Regions from separate parts of the Homo sapiens genome. Here region 2 is linked to region 1. Evidence: promoter capture Hi-C in human tissues and cell types (Jung and others, 2019). All regions are on one chromosome and are shown on one strand. The core of a region is centred on a gene start or on the middle of the fragment in contact, and the rest is flanking DNA. Distances in the headings are between cores, read along the strand shown. Region 1 holds the start of CYB5R1 (cytochrome b5 reductase 1). Region 2 overlaps ZBED6 (zinc finger BED-type containing 6).

What was found. Contacts are between HindIII fragments. The study calls those that stand out against the background at their distance.
Region 2: a contact is called between a fragment that was not itself captured here and the fragment with the promoter of CYB5R1 in region 1, in 1 of the 25 tissues and cell types used here (hippocampus).

The regions. Positions count from the first base shown.
Region 1 is chr1:202,964,450-202,971,652 of GRCh38, reverse strand. It overlaps CYB5R1 (cytochrome b5 reductase 1), which reads left to right and starts at 4,396. Exons shown (of 9, transcript NM_016243.3): 1 at 4,396-4,462; 2 at 4,755-4,904; 3 at 5,053-5,125; 4 at 5,660-5,766; 5 at 6,153-6,282; 6 at 6,958-7,041. The coding sequence starts at 4,448. RefSeq lists silencers at 3,298-3,592, 4,209-4,368, 4,439-4,488. The HindIII fragment of the contact is 6,951 bases long and covers 2,538-7,203 here.
Region 2 is chr1:203,849,245-203,856,447 of GRCh38, reverse strand. ZBED6 (zinc finger BED-type containing 6) reads right to left here. Exons shown (of 17, transcript NM_001395895.1): 14 at 6,422-6,737; 15 at 5,767-5,933; 16 at 5,324-5,391; 17 at 2,324-4,307. It overlaps ZC3H11A (zinc finger CCCH-type containing 11A), which reads right to left. Exons shown (of 18, transcript NM_001376342.1): 15 at 6,422-6,737; 16 at 5,767-5,933; 17 at 5,324-5,391; 18 at 2,324-4,307. The coding sequence ends at 4,049. Among named protein-coding and RNA genes, the nearest start is that of SNRPE, 8.8 kb to the left of the region's middle. The HindIII fragment of the contact is 4,531 bases long and covers 804-5,334 here.

The DNA of each region.
Region 1 (7,203 bases), core at 3,147-5,646:
ACATATTCTAGAATTCACAGAACTGTATGCCCAAGAGTCTATTTTAATGTATGACAATTACAAATTTAAAATGAGACAGCTGGGGCCAGGCGCAGTGGCTCATGCCTGTAATTCCAGCACTTTGGGAGGCCGAGCCGGGTGGATCACAATGTCAGGAGTTCAAGAACAGTCTGGCCAAGATGGTGAAACCCCTTCTCTACTAAAAATACAAAAATTAGCCAGGCGCCATGGCGGGCGCTGTGGAAGTCGCCTATAATCCCAGCTACTCAGGAGGCTGAGGCAGGAGAATCTCTTGAACCCGGGAGGCAGAGGTTGCAGTGAGCCGAGATCGTGCCACTGCACTCCAGCCTGGGTGACAGAGTGAGACTCCATCTCAAAAAAAAAAAAAAAAAAAAAAGGCCGGGCACGGCGGCTCATCCCTGTAATCCCAGCACTTTGGGAGGCCGAGGAGGATGGATCACAAGGTCAGGAGATTGAGACTATCCTGGCTAACACAGTGAAACCCCGTCTCTACTAAAAATACAAAAAATTAGCCAGGCGTGGTGGCGGGCGCCTGTAGTCCCAGCTACTCGGGAGGCTGAGGCAGGAGAATGGCGTGAACCTGGGAGGTGGAGCTGGTAGTGAGCCAAGATCATGCCACTGCACTCCAGCCTAGGCGACAGAGTGAGACTCCATCTCAAAAAAAAAAAAAAAAAAAAGAGACAGGTGGAACTTTGAACACTGACTAGCTATCTGATGAAACTAAGTAATTGTTGTTAATTATTTTTACATGTGATAATGGTATTATGGTTATTTTTAAGTCCTTAGCTTTTAAAGATACACACTAAAATATTTAAGGACAAAGTTATAAAAAATATGGGATTTGCTTAAAAATAATACTGGAGGAAGGAACGGACTGGGGAAGAAATGAAAGAAAGGTGACCATGATTTAATAATTGTTGAAGAGGGTGATGGGTACGTCGGGCTTTATTATACTGTTCTGTCTACTTTTGTATATGTTTGATAGTTTCCATACTAAAAAGTTCAGCCAGGCACGGTGGCTTACGCCTGTAATCCCAGCACTTTGGGAGGCTGAGGCAGGCGGATCACGAAGTTAGGAGTTTGAGACCAGCCTGGCCAACATGGTGAAACCTCGTCTCTACTAAAAGTACAAAAATTAGCCGGGGATGGTGGCGCATGCCTGTAATCCCAGCTACTCAGGAGGCTGAGGCAGAAGAATCACTTGAACCTGGGAGGCAGAGGTTGCAGTGAGTCGAGATTGCGCCACTGCACTCCAGCCTGGGTGACAGAGCAAGACTCCGTCTCAAAAAAAAAAGAAAAGTTCAAAAAGGGTGTGAGGTTGTTAGTTTTCAACATCAAGCTGCCTGGTATGCAGTCTGAGTTTGCCATTTAGTAGGTGATCTTGGGCAAGTGACTTACTTGTCCTAAACTTCAGTTTCCCCCCACTCCATAAAATGAGACTACTAATGATAATATCTATCTCACAGTTGTTGTCAGGATTAAATGGATGTTGTCAGAATACGTGAAAAGCAATTTACCTAGTTCTTGCTATATTGCACATGCTCAATAAATGTTAATTTTTTTGTCATTATTACATCTCCTGGTCTGATTCCTCCATGCCATCTCCTCAGTATGAGCAAGTCTTCCTCCAAGCTTCTTTCTGGATATCTTATCTAAAAAGGGCCACTGAGTTTTACATCCTAATTCAGAATTATAAAACACAGGTTTGAAATTCTACTTCCCCCTCACACTACATTATATATATATATTTTTTTAAACAGGGTCTTGCTCTATTGCCCAGGCTGGAGTGCAGTGGCGCAATCATGGCTCACTGCAGCGTTGATCTCCCAGGCTCAAGCAATACCCCCACCTCAGCCTCCTTAGTATCTAGGACTACAGGCCAGCGCCATCGCACTTGGCTAATTTTTGTATTTTTGTAAAGACAGGATTTTGCCATGTTGCCCAGGCTGGTCTCAAACTCCTGGGCTCAAGTGATCCATCCAGCCTCCCAAAGTGATGGGATTACAGGCGTGAACCCAGCCTGTTCTATTCTTTATTGTATACCCAGGAGGAAATCCTAAACTTAAAAGATTGGGTTAAATAAAAATTCAGAAATGCCTATCTTTTCCTCCAAACTAGGAGTAATGTAAGATTACCATGAGTCGTGGTGGAGTGGAGTTCAATTCACCACAGAATCTGAGACAGGAAGACCTGCCAGGCCATCAGCCCCTTCCCACCACTCCTGCAGCATTCATTTTCAGGAGCAAAAGAGCCTTCCCACAATTACTGAGTCCAACACTTAGTTTCCAGGATAAGCCCACACCCAACCATTCTGTCCTGTGGTTCCCAGTGATACACTCACACTTGTTAGAATGTGCCACTTTGGGGTTCAGAAAATGCAATCACTGAGAGAAGCCCGAGTTGTAGTTATGCTCTCCTTTCGTTCCATACTTCCCCCTCTCTTGCCACATCTATCCACTAGAGGGAGGAAGGCCTAGAACCTCTTTAGCCAGAGTGGAGCAGTGGCAAGGATCAGTAGTGTGGCTTCTTAACCAAGCCAGCAGTGGGGATGTCAGAAGCACCGGAACATAATCGCCTCATTCTCTCGGAACAGAAAAGAGGAAGGGTCCCTTCCTTCCCCTTTTCAACCCTCTCTGCATGGATTGGCATGTCACCATGATCTGGTGCACTCACTTCCCTCAAGTCAGTGTGCAGGCTGCTTAAAAAATTCAGAGGAACATGTACTGGGGTCTTAGGAACATTTTCAGCCAGTGGAGAGGAAAAGGAAAACTAAGTATCTCTTGGATCATTCACAGAGTTCACCAAATACAACTGAAAACTGGGGGCTCTAATGTCCCTGCTGCCCTGATGGTATTAGTTTAAGATGTTGACACTGACATCTGCAGAGATCTCATCCATCACGGTATATCAAAGAGCAAATGTCATTCTAGTTGAGAAACTCATGTATGAGAAAGAATGGTCATCTTGGGAAATCTGTAGCTCCAGCGGCTCCTGATGTTTTTTCCTGCCTCCTCCTGTCCCATGCTTGTGCCCCAGGCAGAGCTCATTCCTAAAACCATAGCTGACCCTCTGTGCTGTCTTTTAAGTTATAATAGTAGCTGCCAACTGTTGAATATTTTGCTTTATGACAGGCACTACACTAAGCACGTTAACATATCTCACTGAAGCCTCACACCAAAGCTATGAACTAGATACAATCTATCTGTAGATAATAATATATATCCATCTGTAGATATCCATCTTATATCCATCTGTAGATGAAGAAACTCAGGTTGAGTAAGCTATCTAAGGTCACAGAGCCAATAAGTGCTAGAGGCAAGATTCTTATTCTGTACACTCTGCCTCCAAAGCCCACTTCTTTGACCCTAAGGGCACAAGAACCCAAATCAGGATGTGAAGCTTGGTCTTTGAAACCAAAGGAAGCTCCTGAATCATCCTGATAGGCTGACGGCTTGGCGCTGTAAACAAAATCAGTCTTTTGTCAAAAGGAAATGAAGTTGCCATGCCACTGTTCACTCCTGTAAGAGACTCCTCTGGGCTGTTCCATTCTCTTGCTGCAATTCAGCCGGTTGAAAAACTAAGGTGACTGCACAATGATTAACTTCAGGCCCTTCTGCTCTACTTTGAGCCTGTCTCTGGTTCATCGTTACACTCTCCGCTCAGCACCCGCAGACTCAAGAGATTTCCAATCCCCCAATTTAGCGTGGTTCTACCTTAGGCAGAACTCCCATCCAGTTCGGATATAAGCGGGTCGAAGTGGCAGGGACCACCTCGCTGGGAGGAGAGGCTGGAGCTGCGGTCTTAAAAGATCTTGGGGCCGGGCGCGATGGCTCACGCCTGTAATCCCAACACGTTGGGAGGCCGAAGCGGGTAGATTATTTGAGCCCTGGAGCTCGAGACCACCCTGACCAACACGGTGAAACCCAGTCTGTACTAAAAATACAAAAAAAAAATTAGCCGGGCGTGGTGGCGCACGCCAGTAGTCCCAGATACTCGGGAGGCGGAGCCAGGAGAACCACTTGAAACTGGGAGGCGGAGGTTGCAGTAACCGAGATCGCGCCACTGCACTCCAGCCTGGGCGACAGAGCGAGGCTCCGACTCAAAAAAAAAAAAAAAAGTATTGAATAAGCACCGGAGACCCTGAGCCACCGAGTAGCGGAGGGAAAGGGTGGCGCGCAGAGGGGCCCAGCCCCGCCTCTGCCGGACCCCGCCCCCAAAAGGCCCCGCCGCCGCCACCTCCTGCTAGGCCCCGCCCCCGACAGACACCCCCCCCCCCCCCCGCCAGGCCCCGCCTCCTGCCCCCCCAGCCGCGAGGTCCTGCCTCCTGCCCGGCCCCGCCCCCGGCCTGCCCCGCCCTCCGACCCGCCCCGCGGCGCATTGTGGGATCTGTCGGCTTGTCAGGTGGTGGAGGAAAAGGCGCTCCGTCATGGGGATCCAGACGGTAAGACCCTCATTCAGTATCCTCCACTGGGGGACCCCTCCCCATCTGGTTCTGGCCACTCAGCTCCGGACCAGGGGCTGTCGCTGCCGACCCCGCCCCGCAGGGCTCTGGGCCCACCGTGGATGCTGGGGTCCCGATCCCGCACATCCGGGCTCGGGACTCCGCCAGGTTACCCCTCTGCCCTTGGCATGCCTCCGCGCTGGAGCTCGGGATCGCCACCCCTGGGACGGTCACCACCCAAGCCCCGGGCTCTTACCCAGCCTGGCGGTCACGCTGCCTCCTCTACCCACAGAGCCCCGTCCTGCTGGCCTCCCTGGGGGTGGGGCTGGTCACTCTGCTCGGCCTGGCTGTGGGCTCCTACTTGGTTCGGAGGTCCCGCCGGCCTCAGGTCACTCTCCTGGACCCCAATGAAAAGTACCTGCTACGACTGCTAGACAAGACGGTAAGTTGGGGAAGAAAGGGCCAGGGTGAAGGAGGGGACCAGAGTGCTCCTGGCATGGAGGGTACAGCACCCACGGTGGTTGGGATGTCCAAGGGACGTGGCAGCGCCAGGCGCGCTTGGTGAAACACTTGTGTCCTCCACCCTCCAGACTGTGAGCCACAACACCAAGAGGTTCCGCTTTGCCCTGCCCACCGCCCACCACACTCTGGGGCTGCCTGTGGGTAAGGAAAGTGTGGAATGGGCTCCTTTCCCTGGTATCCTCAGAAGGTGACTCCCCTCCTGGGATCTCATGAAACACGCTGCTTCAACCGGTTTGCTCCACACACCATTCCCCTTCCCCCACTTGGCTCTGCATCCTCCAAGCTGTGAGGTGCCACTGGGCCCCTCTAGAGTGTGGCTTCCATGACCCCCATCCAGCTTTAACACTCAACAGTCTTGCCTCTTCCCTGCAGGATTTGCTAATTACTCCCTCTGAGCAAGCACTACTAACTTTTTCCCATTGCCCAGACCCTTTTGGCTCATCTGTCAAGGTCCTGGCAGTAACTGGCAGGAAACGCTGGAAATAAGTGTTTCCTCAACTGGGCGCTTATAAGAGATCCAACTGAGGGCTCAATGGGGCAAATCTTCCCTGCCTTGTAGCTCCTTGGGACCACAGCAGGAAGCAAGACATCTTGTTCTCTCAAATCTCTTTGAGTATTTTGAGGGATGCAGCACATCACAGACAACCCTTATGTAGCTCTCTGCACGGTCCCCAGGCAAACATATCTACCTCTCCACCCGAATTGATGGCAGCCTGGTCATCAGGCCATACACTCCTGTCACCAGTGATGAGGATCAAGGCTATGTGGATCTTGTCATCAAGGTAAGGGGCTAGGAAGGGACCCAGGGGCTGCTTACCCATTCTTTCTGGGATTTGTAGAAATTTCTAAGATTTGCCTGACAGCAGGAAATGGTATGTACTCTGTGGATGTGAAGAAAGTATGAGCTACTCAGGAGACTGAGGCAGGAGACTCACTTGAACCCAGGAGGCGGAGGTTGCAGTGAGCCAAGATTGCGCCACTGCACTCAAGCCTGGGCAGCAAGAGCAAAACTCTGACTCAAAAAAAAAAAAGAAAGAAAGAAAGTATGTAGACGGGGAAAAGATAGCACATATCTGATCCCTGCCCCAGCCTCAGGGAGGTTTAGTCAACATGGGGCTCAGAAACCAGTGACATTCCAAATAAGGTATTTTTCTCTCTGTCTTGTAAGGTCTACCTGAAGGGTGTGCACCCCAAATTTCCTGAGGGAGGGAAGATGTCTCAGTACCTGGATAGCCTGAAGGTTGGGGATGTGGTGGAGTTTCGGGGGCCAAGCGGGTTGCTCACTTACACTGGAAAAGGTAATGACCTGTCTTCTCCTTGAGCCTGTCTCCCACTTTATCAGTTCCCATAGTCCTCTTGGCACAGTATGGCTGTGTGTACACATGTGTATGCACGTAAGGGCCAGGGCCGCCCTTCCTTCTAAACATAGCGCTGATACAATAGAAAGGCATGTTTCTCAGCCCCATTTGCCACAGGAAGCAGTTCCTCCTCCACTTGAATTCCCTAGCCATGGCAGCTGTGGAGATTACTAAAGCAAACATGTGCCCCTCTTCCCCACCTTCAAAAATTTGCCCCCCTGGGTGAGCTGTGGAGTGAGCCAGAGATAGCTTTCAGCCCTTCCCATGGGAACAGCTGGGTGCATTAGCAAGTCCCTGGAGCTGCTGTGTGCCACTTGGGAAAATAGATTCACACCTGGCTCTGTGCCTGTCTCCTTCACCAGGGAGTGACACTTTGCCAGAAGCAGCTGATACATTGTGTGGCGCTGAACTGACTCACAGATAGCCCTGGCCCCATTGTCCCTCAACTATATTATTGTCAGGGCTGGCTCAACTCAAGCTTCCACCCAAGCTCCAGGATCAGATGTCATAGCAGCTGCTCAACTGGCCTCAGGCATATTTTCAACTCTGCATTTGTTTTCTAAGTTCGCTGTATTGACTTTATTCTTCCACTGCTCTCTTCACCTGACCTCTCAGGGCATTTTAACATTCAGCCCAACAAGAAATCTCCACCAGAACCCCGAGTGGCGAAGAAACTGGGAATGATTGCCGGCGGGACAGGTGCATTACACTGAGGGCCTTTCTCTCCCACCATTGTTGACTGTTGCCATGCAAATTCCTAGGTGACCCTCTGAAGACTGGTAACCATAGCCAAGCTGTTGTTCATCAGGGGATTTCCAGCAATGCTTAGAACTCCCTAGTATCTGAAAAACAAAATCATAA
Region 2 (7,203 bases), core at 1,820-4,319, 890 kb before region 1:
ATCTGCAAAGTGGGCTTCAGAATCACTGGCCCAAATGAACATACCCCTGAGAAAGGAGTCTGCCAAACCTCCCAAATATTTCAGAACATTCTTCCTCTCAGCTTGAAGTTTCTTTCATCCCAACCAGAAGCTTCACAACTTGCTGAATGGCTGTGATTATTCTTTACCATGCCATAGATTCAGACTCTACAACATTTTAGCAGTTAAATCCAACCAAATCTAAATACCTTAGTAACAGACCCTCTCAGTAAATATAAATCCAAAAAAAATTTTTTTGAGATGGAGTCTTGCCCTGTTGCTCAGGCTGGAGTGCAGTGGTGATTGATCTCGGCTCACTGTAACCTCCGCCTTCCAGGTTCACACAATTCTCCTGCCTCAGCCTCCCAAGTAGCTGGGATTATAGGTGCATGCCACCCCGCCTGGCTAATTTTTTTGTACTTTCAGTAAAGATGGGGTTTTGCCATGTTGGCCAGGCTGGTCTCAAACTTCTGACCTCAGATGATCCACCCACCTCGGCCTCCCAAAGTGCTGGGATTACAGGCGTGAGCCACCGTGCCCAGCCAAAATTACTTTTTTTAAATGTAAAACTAAATTCTTGATTGCTGTTCTTATTTACGGTCATTACTTATTTTTTGCCCACTTTATTGAACAAACTTAAGAGAATGGTCAAGGATTTTAATTGTGTTCATGCCCCTTAACTAATATCTTTTTGCAAATTCAAAATAAATTGCGGTTTGGAGTCTTAATTATTAATGCAGTTAAATGTCTGGGTTGTAGGAATTTTCAGAGTTACTGAGCAGCTTCATAAAGTCATGATTTTAAAAAACACTCTTGAAAAGATCTACTAATCAAACCCAATGGCACATAATATATAAACATACTGACCCTGAAACTTCAGTGCGGGAATAGTCATCTTTAATGTACTGTATAATTTAGTGTCAAAATGAGGACGTGAATTAAAGATACACAATAAGTACTCAATAAATGTTAGCTAATTTAAGTTTTACCTATTAAGCAGTTACAACTGGAGACCATGTATTTCCTGTGCTACAGCCAAATTCAAAGCAATCAAATACTTTACAGAACTGCAGAACTGTTGGCTGGGCGTGGTGGCTCACAACCTGTAATCCCAGCACTTTGGAAGGCCGAGGAAGGCCTATCACTTGAGGTCAGGGGTTCCAGACCAGCCTGGCCAACATGGTGAAATCCTGTCTCTACTAAAAATATAAAAATTAGCCAGGTGTGGTGGTGCACCCCTGTAATCCCAACTACTGAGGAGGCTGAGGCAGGAGAATCGCTTGAAACTGGGAGGCAAGAGTTGCAGTGAGCCAAGATTGTGCCACTCTGCATTCTATCCTGGGCAACAGAGTGAGACTCTGTCTTAAAAAAAACACCCTGCAGAATTATTCTGGCAAAATAAAGCCACCATTTTAGAAAAGGATCATGGAACTCTGATCAATATATTAATAGATCAAGCTTTGTTACTGCAATTGTAATTAGTAAACATCAGTCTCATCTTTCAAATACTGATCAAGATGAAAACACACTATGTTCTAGCTTTAAAGAAGAACCACTGAGATTTAGGGTTAAGGCTAGAACTTTAGGAATTATTATCTTGAGATAAAATATATGAAACATAAAACTATCTTATTTCTGGCTATAACCAAACTGGAATATTTGGGCCCTTTTCTTACTGTTAAAATGAAAAACTATCATTCAAAACTATAGTCTTTTGCTTTTTGTGAAAAGTTGATTCAACTTGTTGGGACGACTTTTAGACTAATAGGAAAAATCTATGTTCTTTGGTAGCTAACAAACATATACTTTCCTACAATTTTAAAAATTGGCACACATATTAAGAAACCTGGACTTCTATAAATTAAATTTCTTATCTGCTGCACCTTCATGCTTGAAAATTCTAAATCGTTGACTCTAAAGATCAAGTTTATTCATTTATTTATTTTTTATCAGCCTCTTGAGCCAGAGTAGGCCCAGAGAGACTCCCTAAGATCACTTTTAAACCCTCCCTCCTTTTAAAAACTTAATGGCATTGCTTGAGTTACAACACTAAGGAGTAAGTATCCGTGTCAGAAAAAAAATCCTCACATTATAATAATATAAATTCTTACCTAAAGCATATGCAGCTAAAATTGAGCACACTTGTAAATTTGGCAATATATCCAGATGAAAGGTTTCTAAGCCAAATAATAACTGAAATTCGGGCACTTACACGAAAGGCCAATAGCATTCTGTCTGGGGTCTCTTGTCAAGATGGATCCCAGGCTGATATGATGATGTAAGATTACTTAGCTCACAACATCAAGACTTTCCTACATCAGTTTTATTTAAAACACAAACAAGTATTTCTCTTTCTGTAAGGGCAAATGGTTCAAATAATGCGGAACACGAAACATTGACTAATACAAGTGCTTTAAATATGAAACAAAATTATTTTTTAAAAAAGCAAAAGAATAAAGAATATATACAAAAGGGACCTGGAATCTGTAAGCTGATTCCAAAAACGAAATAAGTAGAAAATCCATGGTGAAACCTGAACATTCTACCTCTGCTTTGGAGAAGGGCTATCATACAACATTCAGTCAGCTGAAGATGGATTGGTAGAGGTGTGTCTATACATAAACTTCAGTCATTTTTGCTTGTGCAGAATCATCCCAATCTTCCCAAGACTGAATGGGCAGTCCTGTGGCTTTCTTCCTTTTCCATATTCCCAACAAGGCTACGTGAAGTTCAACTCTTGATGAGCCGCTTACAACAGCAGTTCCTTAGGAGCCAACATGACAGGTGGGTCAGATTTCCCTATGAGAAACAAAACTGGCCACCTACAGCAAAATATCAAAATGGGTAAGTCCTTCCTTCCTCTTCCTCCTGATTATATACAACATATCTCCTTTCAAGACTATTATTTCCATCATGCTTATTCCTTCACAAATCTAAACCTTGAGGTGATATGAAGGAAACCAACATCAAGAAAAGAAAACTCAATTCAGAAATGAAGAAAACTGGCAGGTATACAATACACCCCCAGAGCATCTCAATATCCCTGGCACAGTACAATTCAGTGTACTGCTACAGCCCATAGATAAATATTGGCAGCTTGAATAAGCTCATTTTTTCCCTCAGGTGGTTAAAGGCCACCAAACAAATACTGGGCAACAGGGGTTTGTTGGGAGAGTTAGAAATAAAAAATTAACCAAATTTTGTCCCTGTGTTAATTCAATGCCAGCAAGGAGGCAAGTACTGAAGAAGAAAAAGGACAATTTTCATACTAAAAAAGAATTCCTCTAATCATGTCACCATCTCATATAATGAATCCAGGGAATCCCAGAAATAGAAAATTAGTTTCAGGGGACCCCTGAGGCACTTTAAAGCCTTTTAAAAAATTACAGTAATAATAAATTAGATATTGCTCTTCAGAGGCTAACAGAGCAGCAGAAGCATCAAGATCAGGTCCAAAGAGTTATGCCCACATTACAGGCTTCCTGAGCTGCTCAGCCCTCTTTAAAGCTTAGTTGAATCTTTAAATACCTTTAAAAAGACATACAATTTAACACAGACTGAGTGGGTATTTTTGTTTAGTGGTAGCATAAAATTTGGTCCTTAATGGTAGCAGCTGTCTTCATCCATTTCAAACTCAGGTAATATTAAGTACATCAAGACAATACATAAAGAATACAACAAAGAAGAAAAAAGCCAAAACTGACAAACACCTCAAGGAGTCACTAAGTTCGCTTGCACCCTTTCACTTGATCTCCCTCTCAGTCTCTTTTTTGTGGAGAGAAGGGTATGACAGAACTTTTTTCTCAAAAGATGATAAACAATGGCATCAAATGGACAAAATGGTTATAAAGTAACTTTAAAAATCTGACCCCAAGGAATCCAGGACACATACAGATAATTCAGAGGTATACTTCTGATTTGGGGCAAATTCTAGACTAAAGAAATGATCATCTCAGGTAAATGTTACAATAGATGAAACTAAGTCCAGTTTTTTGGCGATTTTTTTTTTAAAGTGTCCTCACTACCACCTTCAGCTATCAATCATTTCTGATAGCTCAAGCAGAAGGTCATCTTCATCTTTCCCAGGATCCAGGTCAATCTCAGCTTCCAATTTGCCTCCTGAAATCTCCCATATTAGTTTCTCAAAATCATCCTCCACAGAGAGTGGGGGCTTTCCTGTTGAGGCAGAGCTGAGTCGGCGAGTTTTCATGCTCATTTGGGATGAGGAAGGGCCAGACACCTCCGGGGGTGAGGAATCTGAAGAGGACTGGGTTGGAGGCAGCACAAGACTGTAAGAAAAAAAAGATTATTAGAAAACTGCCGTTTTAAAAATAGTTGGCTGAATCACCTAGTCTCACGGACACAAAGTGAGCAAAAATTTGTTTTTAAGAACATACATAAAGAAATAATTCTTTTACTGATTTGGGATCAAGCTTTTTTTTTTTTTTTTTTTTTTTTTTTGAGGCAGAGTCTCCCTTTGTCACCCAGGCTGGAGTGTAGTGGTACAATCATGGCTCACTGCAGCCTCGACCTCCTGGGCTCAAGCGATCATTTTGCCTCCGCCTCCCAAGTAGCTGGGTCTACAGGTGTGTGTCACCATGTGATTTTTTTTTTATTTCTTTGATTTTTATTAGAGACAAGACCTCACTATGTTGTCCAGGCTGGTCTTGAACTCCTGAGCTCAAGTGATTCTCCAGCCCCAGTCTCCCAAAATGTTGGGATTACAGGCATAAGCCGCCTTGCCTGGCCAGCACCAAGCATTTTTATAACTCAAAGTAGGTGTTAAAGACATCTTTCAGGGGCCGGGCATGGTAGCTCATGCCTGTAATCCCAGCACTTTGGGAAGACGAGGAAGGTGGATCACTTGACGTCAGGAGTTTGAGACCACCCTGGACAATGTGGCAAAACCCTGTCACTACTAAAAATACAAAAATTAGCTAGGCCTTGTGGCAGGCACCTGTAATCCCAGCTACTTGGGAAGCTGAGGCAGGAGAATTGCTTGAACCCGGGAAGTGGAGGTTGCAGTGAGCAGAGATTGTGCCACTGCACTCCAGTCTGGGTGACACAGTGAGACGCTGCCTCAAACAAAAAAACAAAAAAACATCTTTTAGGTAATATAGCAAAATGTAAACAATGGCACCAAAGAAGAACAGCAACCCTAGATTTTCATACTTTCTTGCAATTAATTTGAAGTGCAACAGATTTATTTGAATGTTGCTAAAGTTATTTATCAGTGTTATTCTCTAGAGAGCCTAAACAGTAACAGGGGCCTGGAGTTTGTTTAGAAAGAATTACAAAGTATTACCTGTCTCTAGGATTTTCTGCTTCAGGCACAGTGACTGATTTGTCCTCAGAGACAAGCGGGACAACAGCCTACAAAAGGAAGAGTCAGGTAATTCAGTGAGAGTCAGGCTTTTTAATTTGAGCATATTCATTTTCTTTTGCTGCCTTCTTAGAATTGTGGCTATGATTCTTTAAGCCTGTGAATCTAAGAATCGATAATCTAAAGGTTGAGTATATAAATAAGCAAAATATCTTGCCACCTAAAAATTAGCTTTTAAAAAATCCTGTCCTGCTACTTCACAAATATCAAACTGTAAGTATAAAATACAGTAGTAACCCAAATTACTAAAATGCTAGGAAATGCCAGGAAGTGATATACTCAAGATAGAATGCTAGTGGAGAGTTAGTCTTTCCTGCTTTCCTACCACACAGAATAAAGCACCACAAAGTGAATATACTTCTTACCACAGCTGCCTTTTTGGCTGGGGGTTCCTGTAGGACACTGCTGGAGCTGAGTGGCTTCACAGCGGCAATGACAGCAGCGTGCATCTCCACTGCCTTACGTTTTGGGGCCAATTTGGGGGATGACACAACTTTAACCACAGATGGCTTCACGTTCACTTTGGGTTTAGCTACAAAGGGCAGAAAATATCTGATAAGCAGTGAGAATAGACTCTTTTAAATGGGGAATAATTCAGAATAAAATATCAAAACTCCTTCAGTACTAGAAATACCACAAATAATTCATTTAAAAAGAGACTGAAAACGATTCAAAGGCAATTTGTGGTCACATGGTGGTCACTACAGGTGGTCACCATGTAGATACAATACCACTTAAATTTGTTACCATTCCTCTATTCCTTGTTTTTATTCAATACCAGAGGAAAGATGCACCATAGAAAGTTTTACACAAAGCTTTTTAAATAGCAATTTTAAATTCTGAGAAAAGAATTCATCTCGTTTTGCCTCTGTATAAAAATATCAGAAATATTACTATCTACCTGTGGATAGAAGGCAAATGAAATTCAACCCAATTGTTGCCAGGAAGTTACTGGCAACAATTGGGTTGAATTTGGTAATTTTGATAACCTAAAGCAATACACAGTATAGAAATACTTGCCTTTACCCCTTTTTTCCAAGGTCTGTGCTGCACATTTCACATTCAATAATGAGTCTCCAATCCCTGAGGTTTCTACCTCCACCTTCTGGGATGACTTTGTGGGAAGCCGCTTGGTCAGGTGCCGTGTGATTCCTGGCACAGCAGTGAGCACTGGTTTCTCTGCCACTTGGGTATTGCAAGAGGCTACATCTCCCCGAAGAGGTGTCAAGACTGATTTTTCCCTCTCCTGCTGTTTCTGCATGTGCTTCTCTCTCATGGTCTCACATCTCTTGACTTGAATTTTAGTGATGTCAACTCCTGTGGTCTCACCTGAAGCCTGTGGATAAATTTGAATGACAGAATTAAAATCTGGTACCTCTAATAACCTGTATGATGTAAGTACCAGGCTAACATCTAAGTTAAGCAGAATCTCACATGATCCAGAATCTGAGAGAAAAGCTCTTTATTTGATGTTAAATAGACAATACCCTGTTAAAGATGAAAGATTAGAATTACAGATGTATGGAATAATAAAAAACCCAGATTCCACAGGCTAGACAACCATGACTCTAAGTCAAATACTAATGATTCCTAAATAATCAAATACCTGCACAAAGATTTATGTACAAATATATTACTTTAAATTGTGTAAAACAAAATCTGAATGTCCAGAAAAAGACTGTATTTGTATAATGGAGAATCATGTGGTCAGTAAAAACAAACTTCTTGAAGAATTATTAACATGGTAAAGTTAAAGCAGGCTGTAAAATGATACACTGTAGAGTTCTCCATTATGTTCTAAA